5 separate regions of the Homo sapiens genome follow, and regions 2, 3, 4 and 5 are each linked to region 1. Evidence: promoter capture Hi-C in 16 types of primary human blood cells and fetal thymus (Javierre and others, 2016). All regions are on one chromosome and are shown on one strand. The core of a region is centred on a gene start or on the middle of the fragment in contact, and the rest is flanking DNA. Distances in the headings are between cores, read along the strand shown.

The links. The method cuts DNA at HindIII sites, captures the fragments that hold promoters and counts their contacts. A CHiCAGO score of 5 or more calls a contact.
Region 2: a contact is called between a fragment that was not itself captured here and the fragment with the promoter of CCNQ in region 1, in 3 of 17 cell types (naive CD8 T cells, total CD4 T cells and naive CD4 T cells). The highest score is 7.7, in naive CD8 T cells.
Region 3: a fragment that was not itself captured here is called in contact with the fragment with the promoter of CCNQ in region 1 in 7 of 17 cell types (naive CD8 T cells, total CD4 T cells, erythroblasts and 4 more); the score reaches 8.5 in naive CD8 T cells.
Region 4: a contact is called between a fragment that was not itself captured here and the fragment with the promoter of CCNQ in region 1, in 6 of 17 cell types (naive B cells, monocytes, activated CD4 T cells and 3 more). The highest score is 7.2, in naive B cells.
Region 5: a contact is called between the fragment with the promoter of PNMA3 here and the fragment with the promoter of CCNQ in region 1, in 4 of 17 cell types (M1 macrophages, non-activated CD4 T cells, naive CD4 T cells and 1 more). The highest score is 6.7, in M1 macrophages.

Annotation. Positions count from the first base shown.
Region 1 is chrX:153,597,318-153,600,894 of GRCh38, forward strand. It overlaps CCNQ (cyclin Q), which reads right to left and starts at 1,822. Exons shown (of 5, transcript NM_152274.5): 1 at 1,645-1,822. The coding sequence starts at 1,756. LOC105373383 (a long non-coding RNA gene) reads left to right here and starts at 2,023. Exons shown (of 1, transcript NR_131982.1): 1 at 2,023-2,576. RefSeq lists silencers at 1,533-1,892, 1,903-1,952, 2,053-2,192 and an enhancer at 3,333-3,577. The HindIII fragment of the contact is 8,000 bases long and covers 534-3,577 here.
Region 2 is chrX:152,978,790-152,982,366 of GRCh38, forward strand. No RefSeq gene overlaps it. Among named protein-coding and RNA genes, the nearest start is that of PNMA5, 14 kb to the right of the region's middle. The HindIII fragment of the contact is 5,734 bases long and covers 1-3,577 here.
Region 3 is chrX:152,998,126-153,001,702 of GRCh38, forward strand. No RefSeq gene overlaps it. Among named protein-coding and RNA genes, the nearest start is that of PNMA5, 5.8 kb to the left of the region's middle. The HindIII fragment of the contact is 1,075 bases long and covers 1,323-2,397 here.
Region 4 is chrX:153,036,834-153,040,410 of GRCh38, forward strand. No RefSeq gene overlaps it. Among named protein-coding and RNA genes, the nearest start is that of PNMA3, 18 kb to the right of the region's middle. The HindIII fragment of the contact is 2,461 bases long and covers 444-2,904 here.
Region 5 is chrX:153,054,143-153,057,719 of GRCh38, forward strand. PNMA3 (PNMA family member 3) reads left to right here and starts at 2,328. Exons shown (of 2, transcript NM_013364.6): 1 at 2,328-2,496; 2 at 2,808-3,577. The coding sequence starts at 2,914. The HindIII fragment of the contact is 3,087 bases long and covers 755-3,577 here.

The sequences.
Region 1 (3,577 bases), core at 572-3,071:
CCGATCCTGGAAGTCAGAAGTCCAAAACTAGCCTAGAAAGCTAAGATCAACGTCTAAGCAGGGCTGGCTCCTTCTGGAGGCTCCATGGGAGAATGTTTCCTTGCCTTTTCCAGCTTCTAGAGGAGGGCTGCATTCCTTGGTTGCTGGCCCCTTCCTCCATCTTCAAAGCTTCTAACTCTGCTTCTGTCCTCACGTGGCCTTCTCTGACGGTGACTCCTCCTGCCTTTGCCTTATAAGGATGGGTGTGGTTACACCCAGATAATCTAGGATGATCTCCCATCTTAAGGTCTCTAATCACATCTTCAAAATCTCTTTTGCTATATAAGATGACATTCACAGGTTCCAGGGATTAGGATAGGGACATCTTTGGGAAATCAATATTTAGCCTCCTACAAAGGACAAAGGATTGTGTAATACATTTTATAAAGAAGTCCCTCAGAAGGTCTAAACTTGTTATATAAAGACAATTCCTACCTGGGACCCCTCATTCCAGGAGATGCCAGATAAGGTGCTGTTACTGACATGACCTTCCAAGCTTTGTTTTACAGAGCAAACCCCAATTTACACGGACCCTCCGAGCAGACGGTAGCAGATGAGGTGTCACTGCCATCCTTCCCTAATAATAACTTTGCAACTCTTCTTGCAAATTACAGTAAATTTACATATCACTGGGATGAACAGTCCTGCAGCAGTCCTCAGACTCTCCGCCCACCTTGGGTAGAAAGCACATCTGCCCAACCCTTCTCCCCCAAGCAGTAAAGGTAGGAAATAACTACCCGCCAACTAACAGTATCTCCTATCAAGATACTGTTGATGGGCCGGACGAGGTAGCTCACGCCTGTAATCCCAGCACTTTGGGAGGGCGAGGCAACTGGATCACCTGAGGCCAGGAGTTCAAGACCAGCCTGGCCAACATGGTGAAACCCCGTCTCTACTAAAAATACAAACATTAGCCGGGTACGGTGGCACACACCTGTAATTCCAGCTACTCGGAAGCGTGAGGAAGGATAATTGCTTTAGTCCGGGAGACGGAGGTTGCAGTGAGCCGAGATCACGCCACTGCACTCCAGCCTGGCCAACAGAGCGAGACTCCGTCTCGAAAAAAAAAAAAATACTGTTGATGGCTGGATGGAAACGATGTTTCTACAGAGATCTTAGCTTAATCACCTCGCCTGGGAAGCGCGGAGCCCAACACTACTGTGGATGTCCTGGCAGGGTTCGGAACAGGAGCTGCAAGCAGCCTAGGTCCCCGGAGTGACAGGAACCCTCGGACAGCGTTCTCCAAAAGGCTCCGCGCGACTAAGCGCCATAAAGTCTACCGGAGTGCAGGGCCGCGGGTGCCGGCAGAAGGCGTGGCGCACTGCGCAGAGCTGCGGGCGCCCGGGCCGGTCTCCGCCTCGCTGGAGGCCCAACCCGGCCACGTCCTCTCCTAGGGCCTGCACACCGGTCCACGCCATGGGGATACCTCGCGGCTCACTGCTCAGCACACCGGGCGCGGCGCAAAGGCGGAGGTCCTCAGCCCCGAGCAGGGCTTCCCGGCCTCTGCTACGGTGAGCACTCCAGAAGGCCGGCCTGGCCAGCCGGGCCCGCTCCGCGAAGCGGGCCGCGGCGCCGCCTGTCCTGGCCTCCCCCGGCCGCGGTTACCTGCCTCCATGATGAACCTCGCCACTCGGAAGTGCACCCTGGCTTCGGGCGCCGGCTGCCCCTCCGGGCCCCGCGCTGCAGGCCCCCCTCCGCCGCCCTCCGGGGCTTCCATGAGGCGCCGCGGCACCGGCGGAAGGAGAGGCGGCCCCGGCGCGCAGAAGCCGGCAGAACTGGAGGTGCTCGCGGCGGGCGCTGCCGCCCCACCCGGCCGCGTCCGGCCCCGCCCCGCCCCGCCCCTCGCCGCCCCGCCCCGCCCCTCGCCGCCCCGCCCCGCCCCTCGCCGCCCCGCCGCTCCTCCGCCCCGCCCCGCCCCTCAGGGCCCTCGCCCAAGGGTGAGCGCGCGCTTGCGCCACAGACGCTGCCTGGCCGCGCGCGCAGGCGCAGGCGCAGGCGCAGAGGCCGACACCACGGGGCGGCTGGTATGTGTCCACCGGCCCCTAGGCGCCTCGAGCCCCGCCCCTGGGAGACGCAGGCTCCTCCCCGCGGAGCGAGAGCCCGCGGAGCTGCTCCGAGACCCGCGGGAGGGCACCTCCGGTCACCCGAGCCGCAAATCCCCGCCGTCCGAAGGGGGTGTCGCCCCGGGCTGTCGGCCCAGCGTGGCTTAGGCCAGGTACAACCGGCAGCGCCCGCCAAGCCCTGGGCTAGGGACGCCTGCGGGAGTTCACGGGGAGGCGCCGGTGTCTGAGGTCTGAGAAGACAGCGGCCACCGGAAAAGGTGCTAATGTTTGCAGACCCCGATCCATCGACACCCCAAGGAAATGCTGTGCACAAAATTCCAAGAGGGCCTTTTCGAATAGACGCATGAACGGTGTTTGTGTCTGGATCGTCCAGCCTCCCGGGATCGATTGGGAATCTAGCTTCTGCTTGCCTTTCCAGCGCGACGCACAGTAGGAGCCTAATAAATGTTTGCTGAATGAATGCTGAATATCGAACTCAGGTATTTACCATCTCATTTTTCATTCGCGTCTTCCACAAGCAGGAAATGGTGCATCAGGCTTTAGGGACATAGAACCCCAAAGGTACTCACTCCCAAGTTAGTGACAGTCACTGGAGTCATTCTGATACATTCAGATCATTGCTACAATTTCAGACAGCTGGCAATATGGAGAGGAAAAAGCTACTGCTCCCTAAACCCTTCTGCCCAGGCGCCTTGATCTCCTGATGGTGTGGAAGTCTCCACCTCTTACCCCCACCCCACACACCCAGTCCGGCCTCATTCTCCTTCCTCAGCACTTCCTGCCTCCACCAGCCTCCCCAAGTCCTCTCTCCATCCCAGCTGGGTTAGTTTCCTGGGGCTGCTGTAACAAATGACCACAAATTGGGTTGCTAAAAACAGCAGAAGTATATCCTCTCTCAATTCTGGAGGCCAGACACCTGAAATGGAGGTGACACTAGGGCTTTGCTCCCTCAAAGGCTCTGGCAGAGGATCAGTTCTTCCTTGCTCTTCCAGCTTCTGCAGCCTGAGTTCTTCCTGGGCTTGTGGCCCCATCACTCCAATCTGTGCCTCCGTCTCTACATGGCCTTCTCCCTGTCTTCTCGTCTGTCTCTTATAAGCACACCTGTCACTGGATTAGGGCCTACCTAGATAATCCAGGAGGAGCTCATCTTGACATCCTTATTTTCATTACATCTTGCAAAGGCCCTTCTGCTAAATAAGGTCACAGTAACAGGGATTAGGACACGGACACACCTTTTGGGGGCTGGCATTCACCCCACAATACCAGCCGCCAGAGCGAGCTTTCTAAAAGGCGAGGCTGAACAGGTCCTGCCCTGCCTAACACCCTCCGGAGTCCCTTCACCTTCAGGAGAAAATGTGAGGCCTTGACCTCACATGCTGGTCCTTGTGGAGTCACCCTATCAACTGACCAGCCTCGGATCTCACCACTTTGCCTCATGGCAGAGACCTTCGGCAGGTCCCCCAAAGGTTATGGTC
Region 2 (3,577 bases), core at 520-3,019, 620 kb before region 1:
CTGCCTTTCCTTCCACCTCACTGGTCACTCCTTTTCTATCTCCATTGCTGGTTCTTTCTCATCATCCCATTCTCTCAACTTTGGAGTACTCTAGGACTTTGTTCTTAGACCCCTTCGCTTTTCTATCTGCACTCACTGCGTTGTATCACTGGGGTCCAGGCTTCAACAGATACAGTATACACTGCCTCCTTCTGGAATTGCAGCTGCTCCAGCCCACATCATCTTCCTGAACTTCAGACTTGTGTTTCAACTTCCCACAGCTCATTTCCACCTGGGGAGTCTAATTGTCATTTCATACTCAACCATGGAAGCCATGCTCTATGCATTGCCATCCACAGCTCCGTAAATGGCAGTCCCATTCTTCAGCTTGCATAGACCAAAACCTACACATCACCTGCTGATCTCCCACTGCACTTCCAGCCCATCAGCCTAGCCTGTTAACTCTCCCTGCCAAACAGATCCAGAGGCAAACCATTTCTCCCCACCTTCACCATAAACATATTGTCCCCTAATCCCCCATGTGGATGATTACAATAACCTAAGCAATCATCTTTCCTTCCTTCCCACCCTGAAGTGTACCCCAGCATGGCTGCAAGAGTGAAGAGTTTCAATCCGATCACATCCCTCTTCTGCTCCATACCTTCCCCAGGCCTCATTTTACTTGGACTAAAAGCCAGAGTCCTCAAGGTGGCTGGCCAAGCAGGTGCTGCTTTATCCAGCCCCCACCACCTTTCCTTCTTACTCATACCATTCCAGGCATTCTCTGGCCTTGAGCTGTGTGCTGGTTGTCTCTTCTGCCTGGAATGCTCATCTCCCAGATGCCCACGTGGCCATCTCCCTTGCGTCCTTCACATCTCTGCTCAGATGCTACCTTCTTCCTGATCACCTTCATGGACCATCCAATTTAAAATTCTGTGCACACCCATAACACTCCTTATACCTGCTTCCTTGCTTTTTCTCTGTAGCACTTATCACAATCTAACATACTACATGTTTTCTTCTTATTTTATTGTTTGTATTTCCTTACTTAAATGAAATCTCCATGAGAGATTTTTGTCCTTTTGCTCCACTGCTGAATTCCCAGTGCCTATAATAGTGCCCTGCACATAGTAGGTGCTCAGTAAATGTTGACTAAATGAATGCATAAAATAGATGATTTCAGACAAGTTCTGTAAAATTATAAAGCAGAACGAGCTAGAGCTCTGGTCTCCACATGCTAAATATGGTCTCCACATCCCACGTTAGGCTACTTGTGTTTAAATAGAAATCAACTAAAATACATTTTTAAAATCCAGTTTCTCAGTCACACTAGCTCCATTTCAAGTGCCTAGTAACCACACATGGCTAGAGACTACCCTGTTGGGCAGCACAGGCCTAGAATATTTCCATTCCCACAAGTTTTCCAGGTAGAGGGGCCAGTAAGGGCAGAGGCCCTGAGATAAGATTAAGAGCCAGGTGTGTTTGAGGGACTAGCCAGCGGGGCTAGAGGGTGGTAAACACACAGCAGAGTGGGGGCCAGATCATGTAGGGTTTGCAGGCCATGGTTAGAAGTTTGAGTTTTAGTCTAAGTGATATGGGAAGCCATCCATGGCTTCTGAGCAAAGAAATGATGTCATTTGATTTCTGATTTTTAAAAATCACTATGAGTTATATTTGGAGAATGGACTATAGAGGAGCAAGAGGAGAGAGAGAGGAGGCTATTGCACTGCAAGTATCAGTGACGGTGGCCTGGACAATGATGGCAGTGGTAGAGATAGAAGTGGATGGAGTTTACATGTATTTGGAAGTAGAACTGCAGTACTTGCTGATAATGGAATATGAATCTATGAGGGAAAGAGAAGAAGACAAACTGAGTCTAGTTTTGGAATCAGAGCAATTGGGTAGATGGTGATGCCAGTATCTTGGGTGAGCTTATGAGCAGTTTGGCACTGATTGAATGGTGTGGCTTGGGAGCCAGAGTTTTGTGTTAGGAAAATTGGTATTGAGATGTTCTGTTGCCCAAGTGGAGATGTGGGTTAGGCACTTTGACATATAAGCCTAGAGCTTAAGAGGGAACTGGGCTTAGAAGCAGCCTGCCAATGATAATGAAAGCATGGACAGGCTGAGATCACCAAGGAAGTGAATGTAGATAGTAAAGAGAAGAGGACCCAGGGCACTGAGTCCTGCGGAGAATCAAGCAGAGAAGGAGGAATCAGAAAACTCTATCAGGAGAGGCCAGTGAAGTAGGAGGAAACCCGAAGCATGTGGTATCCCAGGAGCCAAGGGGAAAAAGTGCTTCATGAGGGAAGAATAGTCACCTGGGTCAAAATCTACTGAGATGTTGGTGTAAATAAGATGAGGACAGAGAATTGACCTTTGGATTCATCAAGATTGAGGTTGTTTGGTCACTTTGTTGAGTCCTTTCAGTAGCAGAATGGGTGAAACCAGTGTTTCAGAGAATCAAGGAGAGCATGGGAGCTGAGAAAGTGTGGGTGGTAGGCATAGACAAGTCTGAGCTTTGCCATGAAGTGGAACAGAAGAACAGAGTGAGAGGTAGAGGGATGTGCTAGTTAATTGTATGTGTCAACTTGACTGGGATAAGGGATGCTCAGATAGCTGGTAAAAACATTATTTCTGGGTGTGTCTGTGAGGGTGTTTCCAGGAGAGATAGCATTTCTATCAGTACAATGAATAAAGATCACCCTCACCAGTGTAGGAAGGCATCATCCAGTTGTTTGAGGGGCCAAATAGAACAAAAAGATGGAGGGAGAGCAAATTCTTTCTCTCGCTCTCTCTCTCTCTCTCGCTCGCTCATTCTCTCTTTCTCTCTCTTCTTGAGCTGAAACATCTATCTTCTCCTGTCCTCAGACATCAGAGCTCCTGGATCTAAGGCTTTCAGACTCCAAGGTGTACACCAATGGGCCGCGCTCCCCACTCCTTTAGCTTTGGATTAGAAGTAACACCATAAACTCCCCTGGATCTCAGGCCTTTGAACTTGGACTGAATTATTCCACCATCTTTCTCTATTCTACAGCTTGCAGATGGCATATCATAGAATTTGTTGGCCTCCATAATCATGTGTGCCAATTCCCAAAATAATATATCTATCAGCTCCTACTGGTTTTGCTTTTCTGGAGTGCTCTGATTAATGCAAATGGGAATTTGGAGGGTTTGTGTCTGTCCGTGTCATAGGTAAACAAGGAGAGCATTCCTGAGTCCTAACTAAGTCTTATGGGGAAGGGGTATTGTGTTAGTTTCCCAGGCCTGTCATAACAAAGTACTACAAAACGAAAGTCTTAAACAACAGAAATTTATTCTCTCACAGTTTTGGATGCCAGGAGTCCAAGACCAAGGTGTCAACAGGCTTGGTTCCTTCTGAGGGCTGTGAGGGAAGAATCTGTTCCAAGCCTCTCTTTTTTGCTTGTAGGTGGCCATCTTCTTCCTGTTTTACTTCACATTATCTTCCTTGTCTGTGTGTCCAAATTTCTTCTTCCTATAGGGACACCTGTCATATTGTAATGGGGCCCACCATAATGCCTTCATTTAACTTTAATTACCTTTTTAAAGACTATCTCTAAACAAGGCCACATTCTGAGGT
Region 3 (3,577 bases), core at 610-3,109, 600 kb before region 1:
AGGCTATACTGAGCTGTGACTGCACTCCAGCCTGGCCAACAGAATGAGACCCTGTCTCAAAAAACAAACAAAAAAAGATTTCACATACAAGAGCATGCAATGTTTGGCTTCCTGTGTCTGGTTTATTTCACTTAGCATAATATCCTCAAGGTTCATTCATGTTATTGCCAAGGGCAGCATTTCCTTCTTTTTTTAAGGCTGCTTGTGAATATATATATATATATATATAAATAAAACATATATAAAACATATATATGTTATATATATAACATATATATGTTATATATATAATATGAATATATAATATATGATATGAATATATAGTATATTCATATTATATATAATATATATAATAAAGAAAATTATATATAATATATATAATATATAATACATATACTATATAATATATATAAAATATATATATAATATATATAAATAATATATATATAAATATATGTTATATATATTATATATAAAATATATATAAATATATATTATATATATTATATATAATATATATATAATATATAATATATATAATATATAAAATATATATTATATAATATATATTATATTATATATTAAATATTATATAAAAATATATATAAGACATTTATATATAATATATTATATATATTATATATAATATATATAATATAGATATATAAAAAACATTTTCTTTATCCATTCATCTGTCAGTGGTCACTTAGGTTGTTTTCTTATCTTAGCTATTGTGAATAATGCTGAAATGGACAAGAGAGTCCAGATACCACTTAGAGATAGTGATTTTATTTGCTTAGGATATCTATCCATAGTGGAATTGCTGGATCATACAGTAGCATACATGGACAATTAATTTTCAACAAAGCTGCCAAGAATACACAATGAGGAAAGTGAGATGGAGCAGGGACCCCGTCTCAGGGGTCTGCAGGCCCCCTTAAGCATATAAATAAAGGAAAATGTTGAGTTCTTTCAGGGGCAATGCCAGGCACCTAGCTAGCCCTGAGAAGTAAATAAGCAAGTTGATAAGCAAGAAGGTAATAGCTTAAAACAACAGCCAAGGAAGCTACAATCACAGGATGTTTTCTTTCCCTATAGAAACTAAAGATAACATGTTAACATATATCTCTGAGTTGTTTTTCAGAAACTTGGATCCCCACCAAACTGATCAGCTGGCATGCAGACCCCAGAAAAGGGGGAGCTGAGGACTGAACTCTGACCACCACTCTTTGTTCCAAACTTCTTCATGAGGGGCCTGGAGGAAATCACATCCATCTGTCAGAGCTAATATTCTTTTCTGCTGACCCAAAAATTTTAAACAAAGCTTCTCTTGCTTAACCAACTGCAAACCAAAAGACCTTTGAACCTACTTATGGCCTGTAAGCCCTCACTTCAAGATATCCCACCCTTTTAGGCCAAAACCAATGGGTAACCTCTGTGTAATGATTTATGAATTAGCCTGTAACTTCTGCTTTCCTGAAATTTACTCCTACCTTTAAAAGCCCTTACCTGCAAGCCATCACGGAGCTCTGGATTTGAGCGTTAGCTGCCTGATCCTCCTTGCTTAGTGCCCTGCAAATAAATGTCTTCCTTTCCACCACTGCAAACCTCAGTGTGGATATCTGATCTTACTGTGATGGGCAAGACAACTCCAGTTCAGTTCAATAACACTTGGCCACAACTCAAAAGCCCTGAGTGGGTGTCTTGCCAATAGCATATCAGCCCCTGGCTATGAGCACCCTTGGACCCTGTCCAGTAGCTGCCTGAATTATTTTATTCAGGGATGGATCTGTGTATTTGGCTGCCACCAAGGCATCACTGGCTTGTGTTGCTTTTACTTTTGCAGCATTAGAAATGAGACACTTGGCTGGGAAGACATTTTTTGGCAGGTGACAAATTTGTGGGCAATAGCCCCAAGGTATATTTTCTTCAAACACTACGTTCTGCATTGGCAGGACATCTGGCCTTGCTTTGGCAATTTACGGGACTCTGCTTCATCATAGTGTGTTTAGTAGGGAATACTCCATAAGCAACTGAAGGGATGGAGACTTTGAGAAATCACATTTTGATTTTGATTTGCTTGCTTGACAATCTGCCTAAAGCCCAGCTGAGGCATTAAGGGTTTTTCACCTAAGGTCTTGTCATCTAAAATGGAAACTACAAATTATGTTCCTCCTTGTAGCCCATTATGGTGCATTCTGCAGAATCGGGCCATTTTTAGCTTTGAGCCCATGAAAAAGAAAAATGTTTTTAATGTTGAAATTCTGCCTGACCACGGTATCCCCTAGGATCCAGGGAATGGTAGCCAGAATTTAGATATCTAAATTACATTATAATTTTTCAATTAGAATTGTTTTGTGAACAAGAAGGTAAATGGGATGAAATTCTGAATGTACAAGCTTTTATGCTTTTGTACCAAAGTGAGCTAATTCAAAGAAGGTATAATTTGCATAGAATCATGGTTGAAAGAAATGCCTCTAAGGTGAAAGAGGTAAAGGTTTTACCCGGTTCTCAAAAATCAGAAGATGACTTACTACTTCAACAAATGAATGCACCAATCCTATCTCTCCACCTTATGGGGGGCGAGATATGGAAGCCAGAGCAATGGCCCCGCCCCCCTGCTCAGGCAGGAATGGGAGCCCCTATTACCCTGGCTGGACTGGGGAATAATAGTGACGTAAACAGGCCAGGAGTGCTCTCTCCTTCACACACCTGACAGGGCACTCAATATCGTCAGGGAGCCACTCTGGTTGAGGTAGGGCAATTCCATTAGGCAAGTACCCATTGGCAGAATCAATGCCCAGGGTCAGCCAGCGGGACCTGTGTGGGTACACGTGCCATTCTCAGTCTCTGACCTATACCATTGGAAGGATAACATGCTTACCTACTGGGGTGACCCAAGGAGGATGGAAAATGTGTTCTCCATTTACACTACTCATAATCCTAACTGGGAGAATGTGCAATATTTACAAAATGCACTACTTACCTCCAAAGAGTGGAGAATAGTTTTAGAAAAAGCTAGAGAAGAAGCTGACCAGTAACATACTGAGACTGCCAGCAATCTGGTCTGGGCAGCTACTGCTGAGGCTATAGCCTAACACAAGCAGTCTTAGCTCCTCCCAGCCTCCCATTGGCCCAAGTGTCTGGGCTTTAAGATGTTCTCAATAATATTGGTGGTGTGTTTTCCTGCTCCGTGGTCAAAAAGGGCATCTTGGAGCTCACATGCTTGTTCTGGTGGCACCTCAATGTCCAATTTTCCCAGAGCAAAGGTTACTGTGGCAATTAACTTAGTTAACACGTCCTGTCCCAACGAAGGGACTGGGCATTCTGGCATGTGCAAGATCCTGATAGGATCCAAATCATGAGAGTCAAGCTCATTGCAAGCATTAAAGAGATTGAATTTTAGCAGTCCTGAGGAAAGGGGTCTCAAAGTAGTGTAGCTTTAATAAATTTCAGGAAATGTGACAGAGGCCAAATGAAAACTCATCTGAAAGTTTTTGGAGATAATTTTTGAAGCCTCCTGGCAATGTCAACTGAGATAGATCCTGAGGCCCCTGAGAACCTCAGATTAATTAAC
Region 4 (3,577 bases), core at 424-2,923, 560 kb before region 1:
TGTGAGTGAGCTATGGAAGTAGCAGCCAAGATGCCTGTGTGACCCATCACAGTTACACCAGTGCCCTTCCCTTAGCTCACACCTATGGCTGTGCGATCTCATGTGGCTAGATGAAGGAGGAGGAAAAGGCCTGAATATTGCTTATGAATGGTTTGGCTCAGTCTCTGAAATGGACAGCAGCTATATTCCAGCCACACCCACCTAGGGACGTCCCTGAAAGACAGTGGGGAGGGAAGATCTTCCTGATGGGTGGAGCTTTAAGGTGTGCACCTTATCATCCACTTTGTGTGGAAGAAGTGGCCCAGGGTAGGAATATGCACAGATTTCTGAGCAGTGGCCAATGGACTAGCCAAAGGTCTAAAAAGGAAAGGACTGGAAAACTGGAGACAAGGAAGTCTGGGGTAGAGGCATATGGATAAACATGGGAGTGAGCATGAAGGAAAAGCTTACGTCACATACAAGTGCCCACCAGAAAGCATCAACAGTAGAAGAGGAGCTGAACTGTCAAGTGCACAAAATGACTCAGCAAGTTGGATATTAGCCACCCTTCACCATCAGCCAGTCCAGAACTGACACAATGGGCACATAAACAGATGGGCCACAGTGTGAGAGATGGAGACTGCTCACGGGCCCAGAAGCATGGAATCCTACTTAACAAGGCCTTTATTGCTGCTACTAGCTCTGAAGGTCCAGTCTTCCAGTGAAAGAGACCAATGCTGAGACCCCAATATGGCACCATTTCTCCATGTTGGGTCCATTATCTCTTAGAAGAGACATCCATTCTTTCTTACAAGGACAGAAACCTATTCTGAGTATGGGTTTTCCTTTCCTCCTGGCAGAACTTCAGCTAACATCACTATCCAGGGGCTTTCAGAGTGCATGACCTGCAGACCTGGAATCCCACACAAGAAGGTATCCTACCAAGGGACACACTTCAGAGTGAAGGAGGTATGTGCATGAGCCCATGAGCATGGGATAGTCTGGTGTCACACTGTGCCACCCAGAAGCTACTAGCTTGATAGAGTGTTGGAATGGCCTTCTGGAGGTGTAGCTGGAGCACAGGCTTAGAGGCAATACCCTACAAGGATGAGGCGCCATCCTCCAGGATGCAGTATATGCACTGTGTCAGAGATGTCCATGTGGCACTGTGTCCCCAGTAGGAAGAATACATGGGTCTGGAAGCCATAGGGTGGAGGCCAAAGTGGCCTCACTTTCCATCTTTCCCAGTGACCTACTCAGGGGCCAACATTGTGCTTCCCATCTCCTTAAATCTAGGCTCTGCAGGGTAGAGGTTCTGGTTCTTTGCACTCTTATCAGGACATACAGCCTGGGTTCCAGTTGTACTTATAGCCACCACTGCTGCCTGGCATTTTGGGGTTCCTTGATTCCAGACACCAGCAAGCAGGAAGAATCATCATGGTGGTGGGAGTAATAGAGAATTATCAAGGAAGAGGTAAGACTGCTGTTATATAATAGAGGCAGAGAGGAATATGCTCGGGACTCAGATGATCTTTTCTAGTGACTTTTGGTACTCTTTTGCCTCATTGGCTGTAAGTGATCAAGTACAGTGTGAGTGGCCTAAGAAGGGTATGGATACGAGGGACTCAGACCACTCAGGGATGAAGGAAGCTGCCAAAACTGCAGAGGTTATAGTTGAGGGTGAGGGAAATCTAGAATGGATAGTGGAAGAGGGTAATCATAAATACCTGTTGCAGTTGCAGGACCAACTGCACTGATGGGGCTTGTACTTTGTCCCGCCAACTTCTCTCTTCTTCTTTTTCTTTTTTTTTTTTTTTTTTGAGACAGAGTCTCACTCTGTCACCCAGGCTGGAGTGCAGTGGTGCGATCTCTGCTCACTGCAAGCTCTGCCTCTCAGGTTCACACCATTCTCCTGCCTCAGCCTCCCGAGTAGCTGGGACTACAGGCCTGCCACCATGCCTGGCTAAATTTTTTTTTTTTTTTTGTATTTTTAGTAGGGACGGGATTTCACCGTGTTAGCCAGGATGGTCTTGATCTCCTGACCTCGTGATCTGCCCACCTCGGCCTCCCAAAGTGCTGGGATTACAGGCATGAGCCACCGCACCCGACTGCCAACTTCTAAGTTTACCTTCAGAAAGAGTGGCCCACAGGAGCCAAGGAGGAACTGCTTCCCGAGCAGCTATGGAGTAGTGGATCTGTGTGGCACAAAGGATGGCCTGTGGCAGCTATGGAAGTGCACTGCTTGGATGTCACTTTAAGAGAGGGCCTGTTATGAGGAGTGCAATTAGTTGACAGCATTCAGGTGGAATGTCTTCAGGGTCCAAGGCAGCATTTGAGGTGAGACCATGCTAGTTCCAGGCAGCTCCCTATCAGAGGCTTAGCACAGCAGGGTACTAGGGTCATTTTTGCTCAGTGTGGGACTCCTCTATGGGCCATCTTTGCATCAGAGCTCCCCGTTGGGCTGGCCAAGACTTTTTGAAAGCTGCACCACTGTCTGAGACTCTTCCTTCCAATCCTTCCTTCTCCCTCTCTTTCCACTTGTGTTAGACCCGCCCTGTGGTCTGAAGGTTCTTCCTGCCTCTTTCTGTGTCCTCTCCCCTTTATCTTCTGTGATAATTTTTTTGCACTTCTAACTCCATCTTGACTTCCTGGAGGACCTGAACTGATGCATTTGATTTGGTTTTAGAGACAGCGCCTCCTTATCCTCCCTCCTGGGGAGGGTAGGAGAAAAGCCAAAGCACTCTTTGCTCCTAAAAATTTCCTTTAAAAATAACCTCTGACATGTTTAATCTCTTCAATAGCCTCGATGGAATGGTGTTTGCTGAATGGGCTTTGCCATCATTTAGTAAACTCAGGGAGTTTGTTGAAGGAATTTGAGGGCTGATCAAGGAAAAAGATATGACTGCAAGGGGCAGTAACACAACAAGCTTTATTCGGTGGCACTTGGACAGGGTTGCATAAGAGGGAAAGTCCTCACAGCACAAGACTATCCAGAGGTTTATGGATGGGCTAAGAGGCCACCACCTGGAAGGGAAGGAAGGCAAAGGGACTCACAGGGCAGAGGAGGAACAAAGAGGGAGCTTATGTGTCTGGGTGAGGTCAATCGGTACCACGTTGGAGAGTCTCTGCATATGCAAAGCAAGCAGGCTTTAAATGGCTAAAAAACTGCTTATTTGGGATGTTTTAAAAATAATCAGGCTGGGTGCGGTGGCTCATGCCTGTAATCCCAGCATTCTGGGAGGCCGAGGTGGGCAGATTGCCTGAGCTCGGGAGTTCAAGACCACCCAGGGCAATGTGGTGAAACCCTGTCTCTACTAAAATACAAAAAATTAGCTGGGCGTGGTGGTGTGTGCCTGTAATCCCAGCAACTTGGGAGAATGAGGCAGTAGAATCGCTTGAGCCCAGGAGGTGGAGGTTGAAGTGAGCCGAGACCGTGCCACTGCACTCCAGCTTGGGCGACAGAGTGAGACTTCGTCTCAAATAATAATCATAATAATCAGACGTGTAAATATATGAGTTGGGCACCAGTGAGCTTTTCAGCTAACAGGTCTCAGCCTTCAGTGAAGAAATAAAAAACATAGGGGCCAATACACAGAGG
Region 5 (3,577 bases), core at 1,078-3,577, 540 kb before region 1:
CCAAGTGTAAAAGAGACAAAGACAATTTTTTAGGGATATAGTCATTTGCAGAAAAAGCACGAAGAAATGCACATGGAGGACAAGAGTGGGAGACAACAGGGAAGGAATCTGCAGGCGCTTACCCTCACTGGCAGTGTTTTATGTCTTCATCCAGTTACTACATTCAGGAGTACTGGATGTACTTTTTAAGTACGTTTTGTATGTTAAATATTGCAGAATGTATTTTATAAAGTATTTAATTACCAGAAACTCTTTAAAAAATTCCCAGGCCTGTTTCAGACTCAGCAGATCAGATTGCAGAGGTGGGGCCCATGAATCTGCCCCTTTTGTGACCCCGATAGTCACTACTGGTCTAAGCCAGGGCAAGGCCACCCCGGTGGAGGTTGCTTCCTTCATGCTGTATTATGTTTTTCACTTTACAAGTAATAATGTTTATCCATCAGTTCCCCAACTTTGGTGCTGCTGTGTTATCTACCATGCAAGGAGATGGGGAAGCAAAAGTAATTAAGACATTTCCACTGGTTTCAAGGGCAAAGGTTAACTCCAATATAAAGGAGTTCTAAAACTTTTCAAATTGGACATATTCACATCTATTGTCTTGATACCAGTGTTTCCAAATCCTTTTTTCCCAATGCCCAGAACATCCACAGATCACTGCGTCTGTCTGGGAACTTCACAGGCTTCTTTCCGGAGACATTCCAGACACGCCCCTCTGCCTTGGCATGAATACTTGGCATCTCCCCTTGACATCTCAAGCTTTGTCATTTACTCACTGTGTGACCTTGGGCCAGTAGTGTCCCTTCTCTGAACCTCTGTTTCCACCCCTGCAAGTTGGGCAGATGAAGGTTCAGTTTGAAGCTGGTTGAGCCCTTGGAGTGACAAAGCAAGGGACTGTGAATGGACAAAAATGAGAGAAATAAATTCTAATAGGCATGAAGCAACCAGGGGAGAAATAGTCCCAATTCTACCCAAAGACTGATGGGCACTAATTTAGAATCCAGTCTCAATTCTACCTTCAATACGGTGTGTGACCTTGAAAATGTCTCTTAATCTCTCTGAGCCTCATGAGTCAAATCAGGATAATGTTAATACCTGCTTCAGAGTTCTGGTGAGGAGCAAATGAAATAACTCCTGTAAAGATGTTTCAGGAATTCTGTCTGACCAGGAAAAAGCCCTTGGGGCCATTTCTTCTTGGTCCCTGACAAGTGCCAGGCTGACGAGCAGAACTCAGGGTGGGGCAGGAAGTCAGTGGACAGTTTTGTGCCCCACTCACTGCAAGGTGGCCTCCCAGACTTGGCTGGATGGGTGAACCTGGCCTGAAAATCAACCACAAGCCCCTTTTCGTTGTGTTTGGAGAGGAGCTGAAGCTGTGTGAATAGGAGTTGAGCATGCGGCTGGCAGAGCAGGCAGGACCCACAGAACACCTGGGCCCACTGCCTGAGGGACAGTCACTCCCTTCTTCATTTGGCTGCTGCCCTGGGATCAAACGGATACAATAGAACCCACGGCGCACGGCTGCCAAGGAAGGGCAGGCCCAAGGGATTGGGCTCCAAGTCCTGGAAGTGGTTTCCCAAGTCACTAGATTTGCAGCGCACAAAACCGGAAAGGTCCCGGTAAACCTGTCCACTGGCACCTGGGCAGCGAAGCGCTTTGGCCGGAGGGCCTCAGGTCCCAGCAGCGGGATGGACAGCGGGGAGATGGCTGACCCTCCTTGGGGTGGTGTGCGTGACCTGCATGAGTGCCTGGGGCATCTCCTGCACGGAATGGCACCCGCACCAGGTGCCCCTGGCCTCGCCAGCCAGAGGACCAGTCCTGGACGGGGAGGGGGAGGACAAGAGCAGGTGAACAGGCCCCAGAACCCGGCTCCCTGACCCTGGCCATAATGCAGAGCTGCCTGGCGCACCTCAGACCACTCCCTGGCCCTCTGGTGGGCACGCCGGGGTGCAGACCCCTCGCCCCGCTGGCACCTCCGTGGCACGTGCGGGAGGGGCAGGAGCCGGGACCAGGAACCGCTGTGGTGAGAGCCAAAGGCACGGGGACTGGCCGCCACAGACCTTTGGCCACCGCAGTGGGGATGGGGGTGGGCGGGCGCTTGTGTGCCCGGGGGCCCGGGGGCCCCCGTGGCGGGGGGGCTAGGGGAGAGGAGCAGGTGACGTCACCCGGGGACCTGGGGCCCCCAGGGGCGGCGGCGAGAGCCCGACCTCGTGACCCGTCCGCGCCAATGGCCCTGCGGTCTCCCGGACGACGCGGAGGGGTCCGCGCTGCACCGCCGCCGCGCCCCCGCCCCGTGTCCGCACTGCAGAGAGCCGCGGCGAGCAGGCGCCGGCGCACTGGCCCACGTGCTGCGCGAGCGAGGGAGAGCCACAGTCTGAGCGAACGTCCGCGCTGGGAGCCAGGGGTGCCCGACCCCCGTCCGCCGCCGCCGCCGCCGCCGCGCATAGCCCCCGGAGAGCCCTCTGGGGACCCCGACCAGAAGGGACCTTGCCCTGGGAGAAGGTAACAGACCCACCTGGGGAGGGAGACGCTGGGCCCCGGGAGACTCCGCCGCCCCTCGCCTGTCCGCCCTATCAGAACTGAAGCAGCCTGCAGGGCAGGGGTCCAGGGTCCTGGGGCAGCGCGGGGAGGGGGCTGAGGCCCGCAGAGACCCCACGGGGGGTGGGGGTGGGGGGCTGGGCAGGGGCGGGGCCTGGCTGCAGAGGCGCCGCCCGGGGAGGAGGGCGGCTGGGGGTGGGGGTGGGGGTGGGCGTGGATGTGGGCGTGCGGAGAGGTGGGCATTAACCTCGCTCTCGCCCTGCTCGCATTCACAGGCTGTGGAGACCTGGGCCTTCTGCGATCACCCTAGGAGTTGATCCAGATATGTGCCTCACGCCCTGATCACTCCCCCCAAATTAGTATCCGCAGAGATTCGAGGACATGCCGTTGACCTTGTTACAGGACTGGTGTCGGGGGGAACACCTGAACACCCGGAGGTGCATGCTCATCCTGGGGATCCCCGAGGACTGTGGCGAGGATGAGTTTGAGGAGACACTCCAGGAGGCTTGCAGGCACCTGGGCAGATACAGGGTGATTGGCAGGATGTTTAGGAGGGAGGAGAACGCCCAGGCGATTCTACTGGAGCTGGCACAAGATATCGACTATGCTTTGCTCCCAAGGGAAATACCAGGAAAGGGGGGGCCCTGGGAAGTGATTGTAAAACCCCGTAACTCAGATGGGGAATTTCTCAACAGACTGAACCGCTTCTTAGAGGAGGAGAGGCGGACCGTGTCAGATATGAACCGAGTCCTCGGGTCGGACACCAATTGTTCGGCTCCAAGAGTGACTATATCACCAGAGTTCTGGACCTGGGCCCAGACTCTGGGGGCAGCAGTGCAGCCTCTGCTAGAACAAATGTTGTACCGAGAACTAAGAGTGTTTTCTGGGAACACCATATCCATCCCAGGTGCACTGGCCTTTGATGCCTGGCTTGAGCACACCACTGAGATGCTACAGATGTGGCAGGTGCCCGAGGGGGAAAAGAGGCGGAGGCTGATGGAATGCTTACGGGGCCCTGCTCTCCAGGTGGTCAGTGGGCTCCGGG